Regions from separate parts of the Homo sapiens genome. Here region 2 is linked to region 1. Evidence: promoter capture Hi-C in human tissues and cell types (Jung and others, 2019). All regions are on one chromosome and are shown on one strand. Each heading gives the region's core, a stretch centred on a gene start or on the middle of the fragment in contact. The rest is flanking DNA. Distances are from core to core; before and after follow the strand shown. Region 1 holds the start of RGS10 (regulator of G protein signaling 10). Region 2 has its middle 11 kb from the start of BAG3.

Region 1 (6,405 bases), core at 2,371-4,870:
ATAATTGAAAAGAAATCCACTTTTGACTGGCTGTACCATAAAGTTTATCATTTATTAAAACATCATTGTAGGGGGAGTAAGAGTAATTAAAATTCCAGTAATTTTTTGTGTGCCTACATGTGCTGGGCACGATGCCAGATGCTTTTTTGTTTATTGCTATTGAATACCACTTGCTCGGAGTGTAGGTGGACCTCTCCTTGCCCTGTCCCTTGAGGCTACGATGTGTTTGAGGACACATCTGGTGTGTCCACACAGCTGGTTGCTGTTTGGTCAGATTAGTACCCAGGTCTCTTGACTTTAAGTTGGCCACTTATTCATTTTACTATACCTTGTCTGCCTCAACTGGCCTAGAATAGTCTTGTTACATAAATTCTGGTGATGAGAGGCTCTAAAATGTATTCACAGCTTACCAATATTTTAGTTTCTGGGTAGAATGAAAATATTGAACTCCAAAGCCAGTAATCCCTCTGAAATCTTGTGTTACCAGAAGACATCCGGGGCTCTTGCTTCTTGCCTGATGTAAACATCCTTGAACCAAAAGTGAGACCAGCAGGGGAAGAAAGGGGCTAAACCGCTCATCCTCTTCTTCCCCACACTGGCTACCGCAGTTTGTTTGTGAAGGCTTGACTTAGGAGGCTAAGGAGGGAGGATCACTTGAGAGCCCAGAAGTCAGAAATCAGCCTGGACAACATAGTGAAACCTCTGTCTCAAAAAAAAAAAAAAAAAAAAAAAAAAGCTTCAGAAAGTGCATGCTGGAATTACAGGAAAAATGCCATTGGGATGGTGAGCACCTTCAATCCAATGCAAACCACGGTTGGAACTTAATCGTGTGTGTGTGTGTGTGTGTGTGTGTGAGTGTGTGTGTGTATGTGTGTGTGCATTTGGCGAGTTTTAGGAGTTAGGAGGCTTTATACTTTTATACGTGGTCTTTTGCACAATACACTTTGAAAACTGGCTTTTGAACCTTCAGACACTTAAAACAGGTATTTATAGCAATTTCAATGTCCCAGGCAAAAATTTTAAACTGTGCACTTAAACGTTAACCATGCATTTTTTTTTTTTTTTTTTTTGAGATGGAGTCTTGCTCAGTCACCCAGGCTGGAGTGCAATGGCTCGATCTCAGTTCACTGCAAACTCTGCCTCCCGGGTTCAAGCGATTCTCCTGCCTCAGCCTCCTGAGTAGCTGGGATTACAGATGCCTGCCACCGCGCCTGGCTAATTTTGTATTTTTAGTAGAGATGAGGTTTCACCATGTTCGTCAGGCTGGTCTCGAACTCCCGACCTCAGGTGATCCGCCCGCCTTGGCCTCCCAAAGTGCTGGGATTACAGGTGTGAACCACCGCACCCGGCCTTTTTTTCCTTTTTTTGGAGACAGAGTCTTGCTCTGTGGCCCAGGCTGGAGTGCAGTGGTGAGATCTCAGCTCACTGCAACCTCCTCCTTCAGATCTTGGCTCACTGCAACCTCCTCCTCCCAGGCTCAAGTGATTCTTCTGTGTCAGCCTCCTGAGTAGCTGGGATTACAGGCACCTGCCACCAGGCCTGGCTAATTTTTGTATTTTTAGTACAGATGGGGCTTCACCATGTTAGCCAGGCTGGTCTTGAACTCCTGACCTCAGGTAATCCGCCTGCCTCTGCCTCCCAAAGTGCTGGGATTACAGACGTGAGCCACAGCGCCTGGCCCTAACTATGCATCTTAATTTTTGTACTTACTCTCTGATGTGCTAACAGGACAGTAAAAGTGATTTAAGGCTGTTATATTTTCCCTTTATTTAAGAGATGCCTGGGGTTCTTAGCTCAGGAGGGATTCATAGCATGTCTTAAGCCACACCAGTGTTTTTCAGGACACGCTAGGGTGGACTTGGCAACTAGCAAAACACTGAGCTGCTGTGCCTAACTTTTACCCCTGTGTGCCAGTGTGCTTATTTCCTGTCTTAGGATTACTTGTAATTTGGTCTCGGGGAAGTTTTCTGGGTGAGTGCGTTGCACCAATTCCCTTATTGTTTTAAGAACGCAGTGACCTCACTTGGATCCAGGACTCTGCCAGCATTTAAAATCCCGCTCTTACGAAAGGTGAAACTCTTGCCTATAGTTAAGTATCACAGCTTGATCCCATTACAATGAGATGGAAGTTTGTCTGGGCCCGGAGTAGGCCAACAACAGCAGTTTTAAAAGCAGAACTCCCCGCGCTGGGTCTAACCCTGTTCTTGGTCACCGCGTTCGCTTCAGGAGCCTGGAAATCCTCTTTTGGCAGCAGAAGGGGGAGAGTGCTTGGAAATGCTCGGAGGAAAACGACTTTTGGAGGGGGAATAGCGGGGAGGGAAACAACAAGCAACCACCGGCCACACTTGGGGTGCAACTGGGGCTGTGGGGTGGGTAGAGGGAGAGGGAAAGTGAGCAGAACTGGAAGCTCAGAATAGAAGATACAAAAGAAAGTGCCAAGTAGTGAAAAAAACTGCAAAAGGACGGGGGGATGGGGGGAGGGCGACTGGGGAACGGTTTGGAAAAATAGCAATTAGTACAGCTAAAAATAAAGACCAATTTAGAGACAAAGCCAGATACACAAGGAGAAAAATAAAACTCGCCAGAAAGACAATTTCTTGCAAACCAAATGTTCAAGAAAATGGGGGCTAATGACATCCCCTCTGGGGCTGCTCCATAGAAGAAATGAAATAATAGGAGACCGTAGAGCGCGCAGCGCCCAGCAGGTGACGCCGTGGGGGCTTGAGTGGTCCCGGTCGTGGAGCCTGAAGGCCCTGCCAGAGGCAGTGCCCACGTGTCCCCAAAGTTAGAGAAGTGTCCCGAGAGCGCGGTGTGCGGGACAGAGCACCGCCCGGCGCAGGAACCGGGGGGTTCCTGCAGAATCCTCTCAGATCTCCCCGAGTCCTGGCGCCCGCGCGGCACGGCCGGGGAGAGGGCGCCCACCCGCGGCGGCTCGGCTAGCTCAGCGCACGGGCCCTGGGGACGCCCCACCCGCATTCGCGGGGCGGGAAGGCGCAGCGCCCACGAAGTCGAGGAGCAGCCAGGCCCCAGCAGGCGGGGATCCTGGTGACGAGGAGGCAAAGGCCACAGGCTGGGCCGCGCCCGGACTCTGCAGAACCGCGAGGCCTAGGCTTCCCAGCCTGTGACCCGGGAGGGGACCCCGCCCGCCACCTGCGAAGGCTCGCTGAGAGCCCCGAAGCGCGGTGCGCCCGCGGCGCCGTGCCAGTTTCTCCGGGGCTACAGGGAGAAGGCGGGAGACCGCGATGGGCCCGGGAGCTTGAAGCTGGGCGGGGCGGGCCGGGGCGGCATCTCAGGCGAGGGCCAGGGACCCCGGGACGCGCTAACCGCCTCCGCGGGGCTACTAAGTTCCCGGCGGCGCGGGCTCCCTCTGGGCCAGTGCACCTTATCCCAGGCGCGGGGCACACTCTGGGCGATCGGGGGTCACCCGGGGCTGCCCTGCCCTGCCCCGCCCGGGCACCCCGGAGCGGAACCGCGAGTCCTCACCAGCGGGGGCGGGCAGGGCGCACTGAGCGCGCCACGCGGCGCCTGGCTAGGAGGAGGGCGGCGGGCGGGGACCTAGAGCTCCGGGGCGGTGCTGAGCCCGCTCCTCCTCCTTGCCCTCCTCCTCCTCCTCCTCGCCCTCCTCCTCCTCCTCGCCTTCCTCCGGCTCAGCCGCCGCGCCGCCGGGCTGCTCCTTCTTCCTCCTCGGGCGCCCGCGGCGATGTTCAACCGCGCCGTGAGCCGGCTGAGCAGGAAGCGGCCGCCGTCAGGTAAGCGGCTTCGGGGGCCCGCGGGCTCGGGGTCGGGGCGCCGTTTCGCCCGCCCGGCCTCCTGCCCTCCCTCTTGTGCTCGGGCGCGGCTCGGTGGTACCTCCCAGACTGGAGCCCCGGCCGACCGCACCACCTCTCCCCGCTGGGTACCGCACCTTCGCGGTCCCAGCCGCGACGGGAGCGCAGAGCTCCTCCGGGAGCCCCGGGGAGGAAGTTTGGCTGAAAGAGGAACAGCCGCAGTTTTCTTTTTAGTGATGGTCTGGGAGAAAAAGGAGCGCCCCAAATCTCCAAACTTTGGAGGTGACATGGGGCTCCAGATTCCGAAAGCGGAACGGCGCGCGGGCTTCTCCCTCCGTGACGCTCTCCGCCTCCGCTGCGGGCGTGGGTGGAAGGATGCCGAGCGCCCGGGGGAGCACGGCTGGACCCGGGCATCCGACTGGGCCCCTGGGCCTGGGGCGTCGGGGGCCTTCGCTTCTGCCGCGAGGAGCCAAAAGGTGGGATCGCGAGGGTGGCGGAACCCCAGGATGGAGAAGGGCACTTCTGCGGTCCGAGCCAGCGAAGTTCTGACGTTACGAAGGATTCGCCTTGGCCGTCACTTTGGGCCAGCCTGAGCCACGATCTCGGGCAACTTGATAGGCCAAAGACCCCACGGTGAAGGTGGAGCCGTGCCCTTGATTCCGGTCCTTCCACCCTTTTGCTCATCACAATAGCTACGACCTGTGCAGGCCTTTGGGTGCGCCAAGGGCTTTGTCCACCGCGTTGGGTGAACTCTCCCTTCACCCCTAGGACAACCCGGTGAGTGAGGAGGGAGCGGAAGCCAGGCGCTGTTAGGTAACTTGCCCCAGTCACACTCCGCAGGTGATGGGGAGGCTTTCAAACCCAGGTTCCCCTGACTCTGAAGTTCGGGGGCTTTGCCGGGCTTCCCACGCCAAGATTCACTTCTGCTTGGCGCTCAGAGTCCCAACGCGTTGGTGCATTTCCTTTCTGCTCCTGGTATTTTATGAGGGACATTGTGGTTTAGAGACTGGGACCAGACTGGCTGGATCCGAATCTCACCTTCGCCATATTCACCAGCCGTGGGACCTTTCTGCAGAATGAGGTTCTGCACAGTGGGAATAACAGTAGCTACTCGCCTTTTAAAGTACTTAATTGGAACCTGTCTTCCATCCATCAGGTTTTGCAAATTATTGTATTTAATATGTAGGATTTCATAGGGTTGTTGTAATGATCTTACATTGTTGCCCGGCAAGTACTAAGTGCTCCGTTAGCGTTAGTGGTCATGTAAACCTTTTTGTGTTGCATGTGAGTCAAAGAATTCCCTTGTGGGTGTTAATGTTAACCAGTCTCTATGGTTGGCACAGGCCTGTGGAGCGCTGCTCAGAGCCTGGACTCGAATTAAACTCTTGGTTCTAACCTTGACTCTGTCATTCAGCAACACTGGGCAAATTACTTGATCTCTCTGTGCCTCCGTTTCAGTGATGTGCTGGAGCTGGCTCAAACTGGCTTGCAAGAGCCAGTTGCCAAATATTCAAAAAGTTTGGAAACTGGTTGTAAACCATAGGTAGCTTGAAAGTAGTTATGATGGGATATTTACATCATGAAAATCAACAAAGCTAAAAATGAAGGCTTCATTTTGACTCAGGAGAGCTGATGTTCCAGCACCTTTCTCCACCTGCAAAGTGGGTTTCATAGGGTTATGGGATTAAATACTCAAAACCATATGAAGCCCCTAGTACAATGTGTGGCACATAATAAAAGTGTAATAATTAGTAGCTTTTCTCCCTTTTGCCTGTTATAAATAGAGCTGCTATGAATAGCCCTGTACGCGTTACTTATTACTTTAGATTGCTTTTGGGTTGAAGACTGACAGATAGAACCATTGTATCCTGGGAGATACATGGATTTGGGGTGATTTTGCGTGTAGCCAGGTTGCACCCCAAAAAGGCTGAAGGCAGTTTTAGGGAACAAATTATTTCAGGGCAACAAATTTTAAACCTCATAAAATGTGGTTACATCACTGACAGAAAGGTCGGTCTCAGGCCGGGCTCAGTGGCTCACACCTGTGATCCCAGCACTTTGGGAGGCTGAGGCAGGAGGATTGCTTGAGCCCAGGAGTTCCAGATAAGCCTGGGAAACATGGCAAAACCCCGTCTCTACAAAAAAATTAAAAAATTAGCCAGGCATGGTGATGCGTGCCTGTAGTCCCAGCTCCTTAGACGGCTGAAGTGAGAGGATGGCTTGAGCCTGGGAGGTTGAGGCTACAGTGAGCTTAGATCGTGCCACTGCACTTCACCCTGGGTGACAGAGTGAGATCCAAAGAAAAGGAAAGAAGGAAGGAAGGGAGGAAGGAAGAAAAAAGGAAGGAAGGAAGGAAGATCAGCCACTAAACATCATGGATTGGTACTGGATGCCTCCACTCCAATAGCCTGATTTTCTTTGGAATTGTAGGTGTAGGGTCTTTCCCCATTATGGAAAATAACATAAGTTCTTGCCTGACTGGTCATCACCACCCAGCCGTGTGAAAAGAAGAAGCCTAGTGAGAAAGGGGTCATTTGGGCCTGTGGGCCGAGGTACTGAGAAGACAGCCAAGTGATTTTTGGGACCCTGTACTTAATTTTTTTTTTTTTTTTGTAATTTTGAATTATTTTTCTTAAAG
Region 2 (6,405 bases), core at 2,753-5,252, 97 kb before region 1:
GGCACGTGCAGCCATGCACACCTTCACTAGCCATGCCCTCTCAGGGGGCCCTTCCACTAGGGGCAGCCTAGATAAAAGGAGGCCAGGGCCATCTGGATGGAAGCCATGGCCTCTCTCTAATGTCCTGATGGTCGAGTGCACTGGGAGAGAAGGGCTACAGGCAGTAGGTATTAGCACTGAGGGGGATAGAAGACGTCCGGCCTGGTTATACTGTGCAGACTTCTATGATAAGCTCTATAAATACGCCCTGCTGGAGGTGGAAGGGGAAATCAATATGGCTTCGCTGCAGAGTTTCAGATTGCAGCACTAACTTTGCATCTGTTTGTTATTAAAAGTTAAAGTCTGTGCCTGCTTGAGCCCAGTCGCCCTGTGCTCTCTGACCTTGTGTGGCAGGTACATCCTGGGCCTTTAATCACAAACCATCCTGTTTAGCTATTTAACTGTCTACATTCTTCCCTGAAAGAATGGCAGGAACCATGGTACTGGGGACTCTAGCATCAAACGCTAACTATTTTTTACTTTTTAGTTTTTGAGGTGGAGTCTCGCTCTGTTGCCCAGGCTGAGTGCAGTGATGGGATCTCAGCTCACTGCAACCTCTGCCTCCTGAGTAGCTGGTATTATGGGTGTGTGGCACCACACTGGCTAATTTTTGTGTTTTTAGCAGAGATGGGGTTTCACCATGTTGGCCAGGCTAGTCTCGAACTGCCAACCTCAAGCAATCCACCTGCCTCTGCTTCCCGAAGTGTTGGAATTATGGGCAAGAGCCATTGCACTCAGCTATTTTTTTTCTTTTTTCTTTTTTTTTAATATCAGACACTGTCCTGATCTCATTTATCTACCCAGCAACTCTAGGAAGCACAGGCTTTTATTAAACCCATTGCATGGTTGAGGAAATAGGCTTGGAGATGTTGAATAACTTGCCTGAGCTCACATAGCTGACCAGCAGGTAAAACCAGGATTTGAAGCCAGGTCTGGCTGATTCTGCAACCTGTATTTAACCACAAGGCAAAACAGCCCTCCACCTCTTGCTGCTTCTCTTTTTTAGGTGAGTCCTAGCTGAGCAGCTGAACTGCATTGAATAGTATCACCACAAGTTCATATCTACCCACAATCTCAGAATGTGAGATGTGTTCATATCTACCCACAACCTCAGAATGTGAGATTACTTTGCAGATGCGATCAAATTGAGATGAGGTCATACTGGATTAGAGTGGGCCTTAATCCAATGACTGGTGTCCTCATAAGAAGAGGACACCAGTTCATAACCATAATCCCAGGACTTTGGGAGGCCAAGGCAGGCAGATCCCTGGAGTCCAGGAGTTTGAGACCAGCCTGGGCAACATGTCGAAACCCTGTCTCTACAAAATAAGCAAACGTTAGCTGGGCGTGGTGATGTGAGCCTGTAGTCCCAGCTACTTGGGAGGCTGAGGTGGGAGGATAGCTTGAGTCTGGGAGGCAGAGGTTGCAGTGGGCCAGTATCATGCCACTGCCTTCCAGCCTGGGTGACACAGTGAGACCTATGCCTCAAAAAAATAAAAATAAAAAGAGGGGCCAGGTGCGATGGCTCATGCCTGTAATCCCAGCACTTTGGTAGGCCAAGGCGGGCAGATCATTTGAGATCAGGAGTTCAAGACCAGCCTGACCAATATGGTGAAACTCGATCTCTACTAAAAATACAAAAAAATTAGCCAGGTGTGGTGGTGCACACCTGTAATCCCAGCTACTGGGGAGGCTGAGGCAGGAGAATCGCTTGAACCCTGGAGGTGCAGGTTGCAGTGAGCCTTGATCGCGCCACTGCACTCCAGCCTGGGTGACAGAGGAAGACTCTGTCTCAAAAATAAATAAATAAAAATAAGTAAATAAAAATAAAAGGAGGGAAATGTTGATACAGAGACACAGACATACAGGGAGAAGACCATGTGACAATGAAGGCAGAGATCAGAGCGATGCACCTGTAAGCCAAGGAGCACTGAGGATTGTCTGCAACCTCCAGAAGCTGGAAGAGGCAGGTAGGATTCTCGCCTAGAGTCTTCTAGAGAGAGCATGGCTCTGTCACCACCTTCATTCCTGACCTCTTCTTTAAGATCAGTTTTCAATTATATCACCCTGACTAAACATGAATGAATGGATAGCTTGTCAAGCCAAAAACCAATAAATAATGATACGAATGTAGGAGGGAAGTGAAAAATGTCTGGTTACCCATTTGTTTATTCACTCCAACAAGCATTTGATGCCAGTCTCTGGAATTACAATGATGAATGAAACAGGCTCAGCCTCTGTGCTCAGGAGTTAATGATTTTGTGGAGTCAAGAACCCTGTGAAGAGTTAAGTTACATTACAACGTGGTAAGTGCTATTGCAGAGATACAGATAAAATGCTGTGGGAGCCGAAAAGACAGAGCAACTAACTCAGCCTAGTGAATCTGGGAAGGCTTCCGGGAGACATTTGTGTTGAAAAAAGTTTTAAATCAATAATCAGTAGTATACACATGATACAGAACTCCAGGTGCCAAAGGAGACTGCATTAGTTCACTAGGGCTGTTGGGACAAAGTACCACAAACTAAGTGGCTTAGAACAACAGACATGCATTGTCTCAGGTCTGGACTGTAGAAGTCCAAGTCAAGGTGTCAGCAAGGTTGGAGCCTTCTAAGGGCTGCAAGGGAAAACTCTGTTCCATGCCTCTCACCTAGCTTCTAGTAGTTTGCTGGGCATCATGCTGATCTCTGCTTTCATTTTCACATGGCATTCTTCCTGTATGACTGCCTGGGTCCAAATTCCTCCCTTTTTTTTTTTTTTTGGGACAGAGTCTCGCGCTGTTGCCCAGGCTGGAGTGCAGTGGCATGATCTCGGCTCGCTGCAACCTCTGCCTCCTACGTTCAAGCAATTCTTGTGCCTCAGCCTCCCCAGTAGCTGGGATTACAGGCACCTGCCACCATGCCTGGCTAATTTTTGTATTTTTAGTAGAGACAGAATTTTGCCATATTGGCCAGGCTGGTCTCAAACCCCTGACCTCAGATGATCCCCCGCCTCGACCTCCAAAAGTGCTGGAATTAGAGGCATGAGCCACCACACCCGGCCGCCTCCTTTTCTTTTTTCTTTTTTATATAGAGATGGGGTCTCACTGTGTTGCCAAGGTTGGTTTTGAACTCCTAGGCTCAAGTGATTCTCCTGTCTCAGCCTCCCAAAGTGCTAAGATTACAGGCATGCGCCACTGCACCCAGCCTCAAATTCTCCCTTTTCAACAAGGACATTAGGGGCCCACCCTACTCCAGTATGACCTCATCTTAACTAATTACATCTGCAATGACACTATTTCCAAATACACTCACATTTTGAGGTCCTGAGGTAGGACTTCAACATATAACTTGGCGGGGGTGGGGGAGGTTCACAATTCAACCCATAACAGGTACTCGATGAAAAATAAACCTCCCGGCTAGTCTCAGTGGCTCACACTTGTAATCCCTGCACTTTGGGAGGCCGAGGTGGGCTGATTGCCTGAGGTCAGAAGTTCAAGACCAACCTGGCCAACATGGTGAAACCCCGTCTCTACTAAAAATACAAAAAAAAAAAAAACAAAAAAAAAACACAAAAAACTAGCCCAGCATGGTGGCACCTATAATCCCAGCTCATTGGGAGGCTGAGGCAGGAGAATCACTTGAACCCAGGAGGCGGAGGTTGCAGTCAGCCGAGATCATGCTACTGCACTCTAACTTGGGTCACAGAGCAAGACTCTGTCTCAAAAAAAAAAAAAAAGAAAAGAAAAGAAAAAGAAACTTCCCTTCCTCTATGCTCCCCAGCTTCCCAGTTCCCTGCTCTAGAGGCAACCAATGTCTCCAGCTTACTGGGTGTTTTTCCAGGGGGTCTCCCATTCATTTACCAACATATATGTGCACGTTCTTCCTACTCGTAAAATGATAGCCATGTGCACTGGCATTCACCTTCCTCTTTTTACTTAACAATGTTCCTGTGAAATTTTCCATATCACTCCACACAGAGCCTCTTTACTCCTTTAAGTGACTGTACAGTACTTCCTAATTTATTGAACTGGTCTCCTATTAATAGATATTTAGATAGTTTCCAATCTTCTGCTATTACAAACAATGCTGCATTGTGTGTGTGTGTGTGTGTGTATATATGTATATATATATATAGAGAGAGAGAGAGAGAGAGAGAGAGACAGAAAGAGAGAGAGAGATTGAGACAGAGACAGACAGACAGGGTCTCACTCTGTTACCCAGGCTGGAGTGCATGGCATGATCTCGGCTCACTGCAACCTCCACCTCCTGGGTTCAAGTGATTCTCCTGCCTCAGCCTCCCAAGTAGCTGGGATTACAGGCGTGCACCACCATGCCTGGCTTATTTTTTTGTATTTTTAGTAGAGATGGGATTTCACCATTGGCCAGGCTGGTCTCAAACTCCTGACCTCAAATGATCCACCTGCCTCAGCCTCCCAAAGTGCTGGGACTACAGGCATGAGCCACCGTGCCTGGCCTTCAGTGTATTTTCTTGTGCACAGGTCATTTTGCAAGAAAGTACGAGTAGGTCTATCAATACCTGGAAGTGGAAGTGCTCCATCATCAGGCCAATGCGTTTTAAAATTTAAGTTATTTTGCCAAATTTGTCTCCAAGGAGGTCAGGGAAGGTCAGCCTCGCACCAGTAGCGTTCAGAGTGCACGTTCCCCATGACTTTTTTTTTTTTTTTTTTTTTTTTTGCCACAGAACAATAGACACCTTTATTCCATGGGCAAAGACAGAAAGGATGAGGATTTATTTGCCTTTCCGGGCCTTGATTTTCCTAAGATAGAACTCCATCTCCTTGCCCCCTGGCACATAGACATGGGCTTGGCCACACTGTCCCAGCCTTGAAGCGACGCATGCAAGAAGCTTGCCCTGCTGGAACTGCTCCCCCAGGAGACGGCTGATTTTGGCATTCTTTTCCCTTTCATCGTATTTCTTCTGAATTTTTTTAGATCGTTTTTTGTTTAAAGTCTTTTCTTCCTCAGGAGTCAGTTTGGCTCCCTTCTTGCAGCCCAGGGGCAGCGCATAGTGGGACTCATACCACTGGTGGTACGGTGTGCTGTCAGTGAGCACGAAGCAGTTCTCCACCAGGGTCTTGGTACGGACCAGCTTGCTATTGGGCGCATCGTAGACAACATCAGTGATCCTTGTTTTGCGAGTACAACACTCTGAACCCCAGGAGAAATTCCCCATGTCCCGCCTCAGGGCACCGTATTTATTGTTACCTCCCCGCACACGGACTGTGTGGATGTGGTGGGGGCCAATCTTGGTGTTGGCAGCCAGGTGCCCCAACTCATACTTCCGCTTCTTGTCGTAGGGCTTTCTCTTGCTGCCAGTCTTGCGGCGCTTGTGCCAGTTGTCCTGAGAGATGCCCATCACTCGGCGCTGGCTGGAAAGAGGCCCCATGATCTTACCGGACCGTGTTAGCTAATGTTCTGATCTTTGCCAATCTGATATATTCCCCTTATGCTTTTAATTTGAATTTCTATTATGATGAGTGTAATTGAGCATCTTTTCTTTTTTTTCTTTTTTTTTTTTTTGAGACAGAGTTTTACTCTTGTTGCCCAGGCTGGAGTACAGTGCGATCTCGGCTCACTGTAACCTCCGCCTTGTGGTTTCAAGCGATTCTCCTGCCTCGGCCTCCCAAGTAGCTGGGATTACAGGCACCCACCACCACTCCTGGCTCATTTTTGTATTTTTACCAGAGACGGGGTTTCACCATGTTGGCCAGACTGGTCTTGAACTCCTGACCTCGTGATCCGCCCACCTCGGCCTCCCAAAGTGCTGGGATTACAGGCGTGAGCCACTGCACTTCGCCCCTGTTGAGCATCTTTTCATGTGTTCAGAGACATTTGGAATTCTCTTCTGCGAACAGTCTGAACCTATCCTTTGCCTGTTTCTCCACTGGGACTAAGGGATAATGAAAATGATTTTTACAGATGCAAAAGGGGTTAAACAAGAGCACCAGGTCGATGTGGGACCCATAACAATGGGGACTGGCATTGAAAAATGGCCTGAGGCATTCTACCTCTGGTCCAGTTGCTTGAGATTTCTGACTGAGGCCCCCCCCTCCCACTCTCGCCTAAGCAGCAGCCAGCTCTGGAACCAAGGGAAAGCCTGGAAATGAAATTGTAGGTTTAGAAATGAAAATTTGAGCTTGGAATGCAAATTGACTGAGAAACCACCAGGCCCCTCCTCTGAGCCTGGTTTATCTCCAGCCTCTGAGGCTGATTTAAGCTTGGTCGGGGATAGAAGGAAGTGAGAGGTAGGAGCTCGCTGCATGACTTAATAGGCTGAGAGGAAGATGAAGATTGAAACAGGTACACATGTCATAAAATGATGGTCAGAGACCAGTGTCAGGAATTTCTTCCAAGGCCACAATATTCT

What was found. Contacts are between HindIII fragments. The study calls those that stand out against the background at their distance.
Region 2: a contact is called between a fragment that was not itself captured here and the fragment with the promoter of RGS10 in region 1, in 2 of the 25 tissues and cell types used here (spleen and stomach).

What each region holds. Positions count from the first base shown.
Region 1 is chr10:119,539,934-119,546,338 of GRCh38, reverse strand. RGS10 (regulator of G protein signaling 10) reads left to right here and starts at 3,620. Exons shown (of 5, transcript NM_001005339.2): 1 at 3,620-3,749. The coding sequence starts at 3,701. RefSeq lists enhancers at 1,857-2,365, 2,628-2,707 and silencers at 2,918-3,077, 3,128-3,197, 3,208-3,947, 3,998-4,167. The HindIII fragment of the contact is 18,481 bases long and covers 1-6,405 here.
Region 2 is chr10:119,637,445-119,643,849 of GRCh38, reverse strand. It overlaps the pseudogene RPS8P4. Among named protein-coding and RNA genes, the nearest start is that of BAG3, 11 kb to the left of the region's middle. The HindIII fragment of the contact is 5,300 bases long and covers 1,353-6,405 here.